Linked DNA regions of Homo sapiens: region 1 is linked to region 2. Evidence: promoter capture Hi-C in human tissues and cell types (Jung and others, 2019). All regions are on one chromosome and are shown on one strand. The core of a region is centred on a gene start or on the middle of the fragment in contact, and the rest is flanking DNA. Distances in the headings are between cores, read along the strand shown. Region 1 holds the start of LINC03027 (long intergenic non-protein coding RNA 3027). Region 2 holds the start of ARMC3 (armadillo repeat containing 3).

Evidence for each region. Contacts are between HindIII fragments. The study calls those that stand out against the background at their distance.
Region 1: a contact is called between a fragment that was not itself captured here and the fragment with the promoter of ARMC3 in region 2, in 1 of the 25 tissues and cell types used here (small bowel).

Annotation. Positions count from the first base shown.
Region 1 is chr10:22,431,703-22,438,526 of GRCh38, forward strand. LINC03027 (long intergenic non-protein coding RNA 3027) reads right to left here and starts at 6,227. Exons shown (of 1, transcript NR_036533.1): 1 at 3,723-6,227. It overlaps LOC105376449 (a long non-coding RNA gene), which reads left to right and starts at 5,373. Exons shown (of 4, transcript XR_001747392.2): 1 at 5,373-5,449. RefSeq lists a silencer at 4,975-5,154 and enhancers at 5,625-5,674, 5,641-6,141, 5,975-6,134, 6,142-6,642. The HindIII fragment of the contact is 7,336 bases long and covers 1-5,760 here.
Region 2 is chr10:22,926,226-22,933,309 of GRCh38, forward strand. ARMC3 (armadillo repeat containing 3) reads left to right here and starts at 1,828. Exons shown (of 19, transcript NM_173081.5): 1 at 1,828-1,881; 2 at 5,771-5,819. The coding sequence starts at 5,772. The HindIII fragment of the contact is 8,735 bases long and covers 1-6,809 here.

The DNA.
Region 1 (6,824 bases), core at 843-3,342, 490 kb before region 2:
TAATAGATTTTCAATCAAGTTTCTTAAGTTTTCTAGGCAAAAAGTATCTGCAAATGCAATTTTTCTACTGCTTTGCAATATTTTCCTTAGTATTTCTGTTTCTTGTCTTATTACAGAATGACTTCAGCATAATTTTAAATAATAGTGGTGAAAGCAGGCATATTTATACCTGCTTTTAATGAAAATGCCTGTCTGTCATTGAGTATGGAAATTTAAAAATATACACAGAAGTAAATGAAAGCCTAATGTGCCTCTCACCTAGCCTCAACAATTATCAACATTTTTGAACACACTTTTAGTGGAATTATAAATTAATGCAGTCTTTTGAATATTAATTTGGAAATAGCTATCCAAATATTGATCTGCAATTCTATTGCTAGGCATTAATCCAACAAGTACACCTGCATCAATGGGCAAAGACATTCAAGGATGCTCTAAATGTATGTAATTGCAGAAAACAAGAAAATAGTCTAAATGGTCCCTAATAGGTGAGTGAAAAATCACGGTTCATTCATATAACTGTACTTAACCACTACGAAAAATTTTGGTAGGTCTATATGTGCTGATGTGGGAAGATGTACAAAGTACTTTATGAAATTAAAAAATAAAAAGCAGGCCAGGTGCAGTGGCTCACACCTGTAATCCCAGCATTTTGGGAGGCCGAGGCGGGTGGATCACCTGAGGTCAGGAGTTCAAGACCAGCCTGGCCAACATGGCGGAACCCCCTCTCTACTAAAAATACAAAAATTAGCTGGGCATGGTGGCGTGCACCTGTAATCCCAGCTACTCAGGAGGCCTTCAGAGAGAAGGTGTAAAGTTAATTTGGCTGTCTTACCAGTACCATTATTATTTTTATAAAATCTTATTAAAAGATACGATGTTGGCTATCAGTTTAACATTTACTAAAAGTTTTTAAAAAATATAGTTGTTTTAATTGGGAATAGGTGCTAGATTTTTATCACTTATCGAGATAATAAGGTTTTTATTCTTATATAATCTAAATGTATTTTTATATAAACTATTTTCCTGGTATTGAAATATCCTGGCATTTCTAGGATAAAATCTACCTGATTGTTTAAAATGACTGACTTTATTGAATTTAATTTGCTGGCATTTTTGGTATTTTGGGGGGAATTCTGGCATTGAGTTTCTTATGTGAACTTTTATTTTTTGAGTGCCCTTTCTTTTTCTTTTTTTTGAGACGGGGTCTTGCTCTGTTACCCAGGCTGGAGTACAGTGATGAGATCATGGCTCACTGCAGCCTTGACCTATCAAGCTCATATGATCCTCCCACTTCATCTTTCCGAGTAGTTAGGACTGCAGGAGCCTACCACCAGCCAGGCCCAGATAATTTTTTACTCTTTGTATAGATAGGGTCTCTTGGAACTCCTGGGCTCAAGCGATCTTCCCCCCTTAGTTTCCCAAAGTGCTGGGATTACAGGTGTGAGCCATCATGCTTGGCGTATACCATTTTTGATAGGTTTTATAATAAAAGTGGTTTCACTCACAAAAAACTTAAATTTTAGTGTCTTTATTCATTTAGAAAGGGGATTTTATGTCTTTCAAAATTTGCAAGAATTTGCCTAAAGCCTCTCTTGGTCTTTAGGCGTTTTAAAATTTCTCCCCTAGCTTTGATCTACTTAGTTTTTCTACTCCTAGATTCAATTTGGGTGATTTATGGTTTTCCAGAAAAAAATGTTTAGCACATAGCTAATTTCACATAGCAGTCTCATATAATTTATAAAAAGTCTCCATGGCAGATCAGGAGGTCAGAAGATCAGGATCATCCTGGCTAACGCAGTGAAACCCCGCCTCTACTAAAAAATACAAAAAATTAGCCGGGTGTGGTGGCGGGCGCCTATAGTCCCAGCTACTTGGGAGGCTGAGGCAGGAGAATGGCGTGAACCTGGGAGGTGGAGCTTGTAGTGAGCTGAGATTGCACCACTGCACTCCAGCCTGGGCAACAGAGCAAGATTGTCTCAAAAAAAAAAAAAAAGTATCCATATCTGTTATATCTCCTTTCTCCTTTATATTTTCTTTTCTTTTTTTTTTTTTTAAATAGATTCATCAGCGATTTCTCCATTTTCTTGATCTTTTTCCAAAGAATTACCTTTGGAGTTGATCAAAAACATTGTTTCTAATCATTAATTTCTGCTCCAAAGTTTCCCTAATCCTCCATTTCTTGGAGTTTAATTTTTAAAAAACCATTAATCAGTTCACTTATTTTTACTCTTTCTAGTTCAATTTTTCCCTGCCAAATGATGTTACTAAACTCAGTGTGGTTTCAAATGACTTGAGTATTTCTAAAAATCTGCTCTCCGAGGAGGAAGATTTGCTATCACTGATGATGTCATTTAAAAGAATGTGACTCAGACTCTTGTGGCAAATTTCTAAAGAATTCTAAAAATGTTTGAGTAATGGGAACACAATTGCAGCAAGCTTATGACCTACTCTGAAGGAGCCAATTTGTAAAACCTGCACGTTTGCTGAACATTATCTGCCCTTATATATTTAGAAATAATCAAGTGCTAGGAATTAAAGAGGAGCTCTCACTTTTGTTTATTGGGATGCCTTCTGATACTGCATGTCTATGACCCAAGATATTCTTAATATTTTTCTTTTTGTGAAAATGTATTTAAACACATCATGTGTACAGCCTGGCTTCATTTTTGCTCCCAACAGAAATTAATCTCAGATGAAACATTTTTCAAAAAAAGATTAAAAACTGTTCACATGCTAGGATGACCAAGTTTTCCTTGCAAAAACCAATTCACTATGATGATGTGGATGAAGGCAGAATGTGTTATTAAAAATAATTAAGTGCTCTGATAGGCCACAATTATAAGCGATAAAAATATTCTCTAATAAAATGTATTGTGCCAATAGAAAGGTAGATTGCAGGTGTGACCTTTGGCAAGGTATGTAGTAGAACTTATTAGAGCCATGTGTTTGTAGATTATGTAACAGTTTTTAAGTGGTCAGGAAGGGGAGGATTTTGTGGTCAGAAAAGTGGAACTGCCCTATTTAACATATGACCCTGGCCATTCCCATCCCAAATTACTGTTGATCAAGTTACAGATAGTTGGGAAGCCCAGGTGAAAGGGAAGCCTAGAATAAGGCCCGACAAAATTGCAATAAACAGTAGGCCACAAAGCCAGTGGCCATTATCATTAAAAACACTTACTGAAGTATTTAATATAGAAAATAATGTCAAGAAAAATTGTTTTGCAAAGCACTATGAACCAGAAATCACTTAAAAAGGCTTTAACATATCCTCCCCTGATGTCTTTAGGAAAGCTAGAACATGACCAAAAACATAAGTAGACCTCCCCAGACTAACAGCTTTATGATCATTATTTGAAAGCATTTTGTTTTGCATTTGCATGCATCTCAGGTTTAAGTTTCCAAATTTTTAAAGCATTTAAGTGCTAATGCTCTAGGAATTTACTCTTGAGAATAAACACCACTAGGAACCAATAAATGGAAGCCCAAACTTTTACTGTCTCTAGCAACTTCAAACAGGGGCATACCTATAAAAATTTATATATTCAGCATTGGTCTCAATTGGGTTGCCTTTTACAGAAGCACTTTAATGGGACAGTAAACCAGAGCCCAGAGGAAACAAAAATCCTAATTTTGTGTTGTGGTTGCCAAATTTTCAGAAAAGCACAGATCTAAAGCCCAAAGGCTGCTAAATTGATTCACATGAACAGAGCCTGAGGCCAAGTTTAAGTGCGAAGATTTTATTAGGCGGTACAATTCCAAGGTGGTAAGGGTGAAAGGAAAGGCGAAGGCAGGCAAATACATTATTGAGCTGAAAACAACTTTACATTCAAGGACAGCTTCCAGACAAGCCATGTAGAACCAGCATGCCTTGGGACTGTGTGGATGGCAGGGAGACGAGTTTCTATGCTGACCACTTCATGCTTTCTGCCCCCTTTGGGGAAAGTATGCCTCACGGACCTCTAACTCTCCCACTTCTCTGGGGGCAGCACCTGACCCCTCCCGGCAACTGCTAGGCAAGAGCATTCTGTTCCTTCAAATTTCTCACCTGAGTCTGAGTCAGAGCATCCCATCATCAGAGCCTCTGTCAGGGAGGCAGTGCTGAAGCATGACCTTCACCTGGGGGAGGCTGTCGGGAGATGGCACTGGAGGCCAGGCCTCTACCCTAAGCGAGAGGTGCAGGCCGGGGTGGAGGTGGACGGTGGGACAGAGTAAATCCGGGGAAGCACATCAACCGGGTCTGGTAGGGCATAGCCTTCTTGGACCTGAGCCATTCCTACTGCTGATGTCCACTGCTTCTCAATCGAGAAACAGCACGGATTCAGCTCTCAGATTTTGTAAACTGTGATTTTCTCCCTTATTCCTCAACAACCACCTAGCCACGACCTTCTTTAACTCTTCCCCCAACCCCGAAACTTTTGAGGAAATGACTTTTCTTATAATTTGAATGTTAATAAACCGTACCCATTTAGAAACTACAGTTTGATGATTTGGGGCGACTGTATACGTCATGTTGCCGCCGCTCCTATTAAGATATGAAATTGTCCCACCACTGCCCCAAAGTTCCCCCGCTCCTGTGCATTCCATTCTGTCCTGTTCCACTCCTTTCCCAGGCAACTGCTTTGCATCGCCACTGTTGCTTCTTCTAGAATGTCCTATAAATGGACATCAGACCGACTATGGCTTTTTGGGTTCTTCCCCCCACAGCATCGTGTTTTTCAGCTCCACCCACGTGGTTTTGGGTATTAATCCTATGGTAGAACTAGCTAGATGCTGGAGAACTCATTATGCGCCGGTAGGTAATTTTAACCTGCATCGTCTCATCTCTATTCTGTCACAATAGAGGAAACTGAGGCACGCCCGGCGTGTGGGCGTGTGAGGGGGCACCGGGCCGACTTCCGCCCGTCAGTAGGCCTGGACCTGCTGGCACCCGCTGTCAAGATAGGGCCTGGCGTCGCGGCGAGGCATCAGCTCGGGCAGAAGCACAGCCCAGGAAGTGGGCGCGTCGCAAGCTCCACACCCAACCAAACCCGGGCAGAGGGCTCGGTGGGCGCGAGGCCGAGGGCCCAAGAGGCCGGGGCCGCTACCCCCTCGCCCCTGGGACGGCCTCCGGGTCTCCTTGCTCCAGCAGACAGGCCCGCGGCGGCTACTCCGAGGCGCAGGGGCAAGGCCGCAGCGGGCAGCGGAGGCCGAAACAGAGAACACACACAACGCGGACCGACAGCAGTCACCGCAGGGGTCGCCGGGGCGCGGCTCTATAAAGCCTCGGCTCTATAAAGCCGCGCTAAGCCGCATCGCGCTGCACGTTTCCTTCCGCGCGGGGCCGGCGCTACTTCCCGCCTTACCAGGCCGCCGTGCCGGGAGGAGCTGAGACGTCTGCAAGGCCGCAACATCTCGCAGCAGCTTTTCGCCTGCTTCCTCCGCTCGCTCTAGAGGGCACAGCAAGGTGCGGGGCTCAACCTGCCGCTTCCCCAAGACGGAGGTGGCCGCCACGCTCCCGCCCGCTGTAAACGTCCGAGCGGGAAGAGCGGCCTCTGGTTTCTGTGGTATCGGCTTCTGGTTTCTGTGGTATCCGGAGACTTCGTTTCCCGGCGCGAGGGAAACAAAGATGCTGGCGTGGAGCGGCCTGCCCGCCGCTATTGTCTGGCTGCCTGACAGGGAGCGGCCGCTTTCGCTTTCTTCTGCCGAATGGAACGTGGTGACTCGGGAGCCGCGGAGCGCCTTTCGAGGCAGCTTTGTCTGCGGAAAGGGAGCGCTGCGGACGGCCTGTCGGAATGGTCACCGCCCGCTTTCCGCGGGAGGCGCGCCGGGCACCGCTGGGCGATTTCTCCGCCTCAGCGAAAGAAAGGAGAAGCCGGCATTTGTGGCCGCCCAGTCTTCGTTCCGATTTGAGCCCTGGCGTCGGCGGGAGGTGACAGTGCTGTCCGCGCGCACCCCCTCCGTCGCCGTCAGGGTCGTGCTCCTTAGGTTTCCTGCGGTTTTTCTGCTGCTCTGAGACGGTCTCTGGGACCAAGTTCTCACAGCATCGTCTTCTCCTCTCGCAAATAATCTTTTTATGATGTTTGTTCTGCTGAATCCACCGGACGCCTCAGACACGGGCCCTGACGGCATCGCCGGCCTGGGGGAGGCGTGGAGAGAGGGGAGGAAGGCGGGAGGGCTGTGGGGCTGCTAGCTGATTTGGGGATCCCATCATCTTCGAATTTTTATGCAGAGCCCATGGAAGCGCCTGGTCAGAGAAGCGGGAGGAAACCGAACCTAAGAAAGGGGCTTGGAGTCAGCAGTGAAGAATCTATTGTTTATTTTAGTTTTGTTTTTAGATTCAGGAGGTAGAAGTGCAGCTTTGTTGCTTCCAGGTATTGCAGAGTGGTGAAGTCTGGGCTTTCAGTGCTGCCCCCACCCAAATAGTGTCCTTTGGACCCATTAGGTAATTTCTCATCCCTCAGAGTGACTACTATTTAAAAGGCAGCTATTGTTAGAGCTGGCAAGCTGCAAGGGCAAAACAAAACAAAACAAAAAACAAAACAGGGTTGGGGGGAGCATAGAATATTTTTTTTTTTTGACAGCAGCGTAGTAAAGTTTGGATTTAGAGCTTTTTGTTACTGCCCATCTCCCATACTCCTGTTTTATTTCTCTTTGTAGCATTTATAACCTCCTGGTATGATAACGCATTTTACACGTTTATTGGCTTCTCTGCCCACTTGATTTTTATCTCCTTTTGGAGAGCAGGGAATTTTTTGTTCCCTGGAGCCTAGCAGGGTACCTAGCAGTGTTCTGGGGGCTTTGTAAATACTTGCTGAATCAGTGGAAAAAAAAGAAACAGG
Region 2 (7,084 bases), core at 578-3,077:
AAAGTAGGAGGAAGATCAAGAGCAAGTAGTACCAAGGAAACCAAGAAAAGAGTTTCAAGAATGAGGTGTCATTGAGTATTATATACAGCAGCAATGTCAAGCAAGATGAGGGCTAAGAAGCATCCAATGGATATGGATAGTTTTAGTGCTGGGATGAAAACAGGTCACTATAGTCTGAAGAGTGAATAGGAAGTTAAAAATATGTAAGTATCTAATGCTGGCTACTTTTTTTGAAAAGTCATGACCAAGAAGAGAAAGAAAACAATAGGATAATAGTTAGAAGGAACAACAACATCAAAGGGATTTTATTTGTTTTTGCTTTTTAGATGAGGCATGGGAGGGGCTTCAACATAATTATATACCAACAGGAAAAAACGTGGAAGACAGGGAGAGGCTGAAAATACAGGTGTATATTATTCAAGGTCCAATCATATAACACTTGATGACGCTTATATTCTTGAAACTCCCTCCTTAGTTTCCTTGATGCTACTTGGTCTTAATCCTTTTCCTACTTTCATGACCATTACTTAAGATCTTTTCTATACAGAAGTCACACCGGATATTTGACCATGGAAAACTGAATACAAATAATTGTTATAAAGCTGTTTATCAGGCAATTTAAATGGTGAGAAGAGAACATAAGATATATAAAAGTAGCAATTATAAGAAGCATCTATCATTCTTAGGACTGGGAGACCAACAGGGGCCGGTAGGAGACGGAATTTGCAAAGTCTAAGAGGAGAGGGAGAGACTTTTTGCTAAAGGCAATCAAAAAATATTTTATGAAGATGGCATTTGAGCTGGGCTTAATTAAGTGGAAATGAGAGAATATTTCAGGTATTGCACATGACCTGGGAAATAGAAGCTACTTTATAAATATTTGTTGAAAAATGAAGTGATGAACAGATAAGCAAGAAAATCTAGAGAAAAGTGTGGAAAATTTCGGGAACAGTAAGTTTGGCTGGAGCTTGGATGGTGGAGATCGGTTGAAAATGTGGTTGCACAGATGGAGTAGAGATGGAGCAGACGGTCTTAAATTCCAGGCCAATGTGTTGAAAATTTATCTTAGGAAGCCGCTGACATTTGAGTAGGGAAGTGACAAGACTGGAACGATGATTTCTGGATGGCCGATTTGCCTGTGATACGTAGAAAGAACTGTAAGCAGAGAGCAACTGAATTTCTCAGCCAGAAGGCCAAAAAATGACGAGCTGGATTGAAGTGACAATAAGGATATGAGAAAGGGAACAAGCAGGAAACAAAATGTAAGCCGCCAAGAAGTGGCTGAAGTGATGACTGTGGTTGGGGGGCATGGGAGGAAGAAGGGAAATTGAAGCTCCTTCTGAGTCTAGGCAATTGGAAGAATGGCAGGAAGAGGAAAGAAAGAGGAAGAGAACGGGGCTTTGAAGGGCCATGAGAAGTTCTGTGGAAACGGATTGGACATCCTAGTGCAAAGAGATGTGGCAGTGCAGGTCTGCAGCTTAACGGAGCCTGGGCAGGAGGTGGCTGATGTGGGTTTCATCTGCATAGAGATTCCGGCTGACGCCTCTATTTGGAAGAATGCAATAGTATTTGCGTATTTGAACCCACAGCCAGTCCTTGGGCCAGAAACTGAGGCTGAACTGCCTCTTGATTTACAGCTTCCACCCCCAGTTTCCATTCTCCCCTAAAGCACTGGATTCAGGTAATCGCGGACGCACTTGGCTCCTCCCGCACTGGCCGCTGCCCTCGGCGGGACAATGGGCGCCCTAGCAGCCCCGAGCGTTCCCAGGGCGCAGGCGCGGCGCGGCGTGGCGTCGCCTAGCAACGAGGCACAACAAGGGACTGGGGGTTCGTCTGCTGGGTTTGCGGAGCAGCTAGCTACTCGGCGGGATCTCCCGGCAGGTAAAGGTAACCCCGTGGGGTGGGGAGGCCCAAGGCAGAGGCCTGAGGAAAACCTGGGAAAGGAGAAGGTGCCACGTGGGCGCAGACTGCTTGGGTCAGTGAGGCAACACCTTGCTGGGCGTTGTTAGTTTCTGCCTCGCGCCCGCAGGGTTAGACGGGGCTTGGGGTGGGTTTCGTAAGCATCCCGCCACCTCCCATTCAACAGGTGACAAAACTGAGGCCCGAGAGGGGATCTGAGGTGAGATCAAGTCAGATTCCGTTACTTGACTGTGAGCAACTCAGAAGTGGCCTCGATTTCTTGAGCCCTCCTCCTCTTTAAATCTTCTCAAAGCAGAACTCATTAGAAAATATTTAAAATCATAGGCTGAACGTTCACGAAGAACAAATACAAAGGACCAATCAACTCGTGAAAAAAAAAATGGCTCCAGTAGTCAAGAAGATGCATTTTTAGAGCAGAGTTGTTTGCATATCCAATGCCCTGAAGTTTTCACCCAGTTAATTTACTGCTAGAGATTTATCCTAAAGAAATAGTTGGGGATAATGGATGAAAATTTTATGTCCAAGGACGTTCTTTCAGCCCTGTCCATATTTCCAGAAAATTAGAAACAAATTTCAACAATCAGAGACTGGCTAGATAGCTAAGGGATTTTAAAATATTTGTAATGGCATGTTATGCTAATCCACTGGAGATTATTAAAGCAATGAAGGGAAACTGAGACTTCATGAATTTATTTGTTAATATAAGAATTTAGTAGGAATATGAACCCAGGAAGGGAAGGTGAAAGTAGGGGATAGAAGTTGAGGCAGGATGTTAAAATCACTTTAGAAAAACACACAAAGCCAGGTACGGTGGCTCACGCCTACAACCCCAGCACTTTGGGAGGCTGAGGCGGGTGGATCGCCTGAAGTCAGGAGTTCGAGACCAACCTGGTCAATGTGGGGAAACCTGTCTCTACTGAAAATACAAAAATTAGCCGAGCGTGGTGGCGGGTACCTGTAATCCCAGCTACTCAGGAGGCTGAGGCAGGAGAATCTCTTAAACCTGGGAGGTGGAGGTTGCAATGAGCCAAGATCAGGCCACTCTCCAGCCTGGGCAACAGAGTGAGACTCTGTCTCAAAAAAGAAAAAGAAAAAGAAAAAAAGAGAAGAGAGAGAGAGAGGGAGAGAGAGAGAGAGAAAGAGAGAGAGAAAGAGAAAGAAAAAGAAAAAGAAAGGAAAGGAAAGGAAAGGAAAGGAAAAGAAAAGAAATAGTATTGATCTCTCTGAGCTTATCTTTGGGTGATTTTTATTTTATTCGTTGTGCCCTTGTTTTCCAAATTCTCCACAGTGAAATGTATTACCCTTGTAAGGATCATCTCCATAGCTCATTGCCACCGACCTATGTCAGCTGTTCAGTCTCTCCTCCATTAACTATCATACCCAATATGGTGATAAAACACATAGGCTTTTTTTGGGGGAGGAGACAGAGTCTCGCTCTGTCACCCAGGCTGGAGTGCAATGGGGTGATCTCAGCTTATTGCAACCTCCGCCTCCCGGCCTCAAGCAATTCTCCTGCCTCAGCCTCCCCAGTAGCTGGGAATGCAGGCACATGCCACCGCCACTCCAGGCTAATTTTTGTATTTTTAGTAGAGACAGAGTTTTGCCATGTTGTCCAGGCTGGTCTTGAGCTCCTGACCTCAGGTGATCCACCCGCCTCAGCCTCCCAAAGTGCTGGGATTACAGGAGTGAGCCACCACGCCGGGCCATGATAAAACACATAGGCTTTTAACTTCATTCTTTAGCTTAGGAGACACTCTATCATTGCAATACTGTCTGTGTAAGCTCTTCTAACCTCTGCACTATGCAATTGCTCAAAAACACTATCCTGAAGTAGGAAAAATTAGTTCCTAAGTGAAAATCAGATGATTTAAAACAACTTTATGCAGGTGTAATTAAATTGCTTCCTGAATATTATTCATAAGCAATTATTTTATAAATCAAAGGCTGCTCTGTCTTGGAATTGGTTATAGAGTGCTATAAACTCTCTCTTTTTTTTTTCCTAGAGATTAATTGTAGGATAGATTCTCATTTGCCCAGAATAGTTTCTGCCTCTCTGCCTGAAATATTATAGGCACAAGGTCTAGGGCCTGTTCACTTTTCAAGCACCTAAGGAAGATGTTTGAGATTTGAAAAAAATGCTTATATTGGCTCTAAAATATGAAAAGAGAACTGAAAAATTAGTGTTAATTAAATGTTTTATTAATATAAATTTTTATTACATTTGAAAACAATTTTCTCATTTTACAAGAATTTCCAGGTGTATGTACTGATTGCTGAGTAATTTCAAATACAAATTTCAAAAGTTTTTATGATGCAAATGACATTTAATGGGCGATGCAGGCACATTTTAACATTTTAATATATTGGCTATTGTGTGAATAAGCTTGCCCAGGCCCTCCAAAGTCTTAAAAGTAGTGTGGTCTGAAGTTAGAGACCTAGAATAAATGCCTTTCAGAAGTATCTAGGAGTTTCTATGAAGACGTGGCTTTTTAATGTATGTGATAAATTCTGGTCAGTGTCTCTAATGCTAGGAGTTGCTTTTGACCCTTGACATGCAATTTGAGCTAACCCTGACACTGTAGATTCTCCCCAAGGATTTTCTACTTCCTAGGATTTCTACTGAGACTATGGTAATTTCCTTAAGGCTATGATATACCGTTTAAGATTGCTCCTACGATATACCGTTTAAGATGGCCCTGATGTCAAACATAATTCCACAAACTCTCACTGAAGAAAACTAGATAGATTTCCTGGGTTATTCTAATAGACATTAACATCTTGAAAAGTTTCTTTTTTTTTTTTGAGACAGTCTCACTCTGTTGCCCAGGCTGGAATGCAGTGGTGCGATCTCGGCTCACTGCAGCCTCCGCCTCCCGGGTTCAAGTGATTCTTGTGCCTCAGCCTCCTGAGTAGCTGGGACTACAAGGCACGTGCCACCACACCCGGCTAATTTTTGTATTTTTAGTAGAGACAGGATTTCACTGTGTTGGCCAGGATGGTCTTGAACTCCTGACCTCGTGATTCGCCCACCTCGGCCTCCCAAAGAGCTGGGATTACAGGCGTGAGCCACCTGCCCGGCCTGAAAAGTTCTTTGAACCCAGGCTGGTTACTCCTCTGTGGTATGTTAACTATGTATAAATTCCATTCCTTTCACTTTTTCCACACAGACATGGACATATGAGGACAAGTGGAAAGGAAGTAACCTCAGTTTCCCCAGAATATATCTCTTCAGATTTTTTAATTGCTTTTTTACTAAGCTGTGGATTATGAAAGAAAACTTTTTGTTATCCGGGCAAAGGACACAAATGTTGATTCAAGACCTGGTAGATTTTGTATACCATTTATGAGATCATTACTCCTAGGAAAAATGGAGTTAATGAGGTTTATAAATATCAAATGCCAATTATGTACCAGACACTGTTGTAGGTATTTAGGATAGATCAGTGCAAGAAAATAGACAAAAACCTCTGCCTTTGTGGCACAAACATTCTTGCAGGTCTCAAAAGTAACTTGGTGGGCTTAGTCTCTTAAGCCCATCATAAGCAAGCTATAAAAATGGTAAATGATTTCTTGTTATTTAAGTTATGCCACTAATATATTCACCTCCTTTCTAAACTGAAAGCCAGGACTAACACTCAATGATCTTATCAATAAGTTCCTTAAAATTGCAGAGTTTGAAATTGGGATGTAGGTGACATATTTGTACATATGTGATAATTTTTACATGTATTGCATTGTGTTTTAGGAGGTAAAAATTTAAAGGAGAAAATAAACCTCCTCTCAAGGGCACAGGTAATTGAGAAATGTATGTGCAAATGTCACTTTAACCATATATTGCATCTTTTTCCAGGATGGGTAAAAAGATAAAGAAGGAAGTAGAGCCTCCTCCTAAGGATGTGGTAAGTTTCTGATTTGAATACTAGTAGCACTTTAACAACCAGTTATAAAAATAAATTGTTCACACAGTTTGGCATGTACCAGTATATACATGAATACGCGGTGGCAGAAGTCCAAAGTCTGACTAATGATAAGATTAGTCAGAGAAATCTAACATTACATAAACAAACATTTACAACATTGTCATTATATAATTAGCACAATTAGAGAGTAATTATTAGCTTTTCCAGTATGTAGATGGCATGTTTATAGCATAGTTAATGAATAAATAGTTTGGGTTGTTCTTTTAAATACTTACCATTTACATTTGCCAGCCTCTCATTTATGTTAATTAATCAAGTGAATTTTCAAAAATAACTGGAAGTTCTGCTATAGCTATTAGATATGTATATAAGGTTGTCTGGTGATGACCACTGCACGTGAGAAGTCCCTATCCTTTCCAGTTCTATCGAGAGACTAGTCTGGCATCATCATTTTTATTCCAAATGCTAAGTAATTCATTCCCCACTGAAAGCTCTTCTCTGTCTTTAAAAACAGGATTTTATCTTCTCTCTTTAAACTTTATCAATTATTGAAAGGTTGTGTTAAAAGTGAAAAATGACCTTGGACAATTTGCAGTTTAGAAACTTATTTTGAAACAGACATTTGGTGTGATTTCCTTCAGATAAATCAGGAATAGAAAAGAAATAAGTGGAGTCCACAGACTCACAGCAATTTCAAATTTGAAGGAAACTGGGCTAATGGCAGAAATCTGCCCCCTTGGGAGCTTTGTGGTTAAGACACTGGGGGCCTTGAGCCAGCTCTGCCTCTTACCAACTGTGTCATTGTGGCCAATTTGCCAAATTTGGCCAAGTTATTTCGGTTTTTCTTTAGCTCCTAAATGGGAATCATAATATCAAACTCGTTCCCGTTGTTGTATGAATTAAAACAAAATAAGTTACATAAAGGTCTTAGTGCTTGGCACGTAGCACTTGGAAAATAAGATCTATTATCATGAGAATCCTCTGGACTCTGCTTCTGAGACACACAAACACACACTTGCACCCCTGTGCAATCCACTGGGTATGATACTTCAATACAGTTGGGAACAAAATCTACAGAAGTGCCTGTCTTCCCGGGTCCAGGAAGGCTTTGCAGGGGTAGACATTGTGATCTCATGATGTTTCATCATTCTGGCTGCTTCTCTTAGGACATATTCCTAAAATGTTGCAGATTCTCTTATTTTTTTTTTCATTGCATCCAAGGTTTGTATCACTCCCCTTTTTGC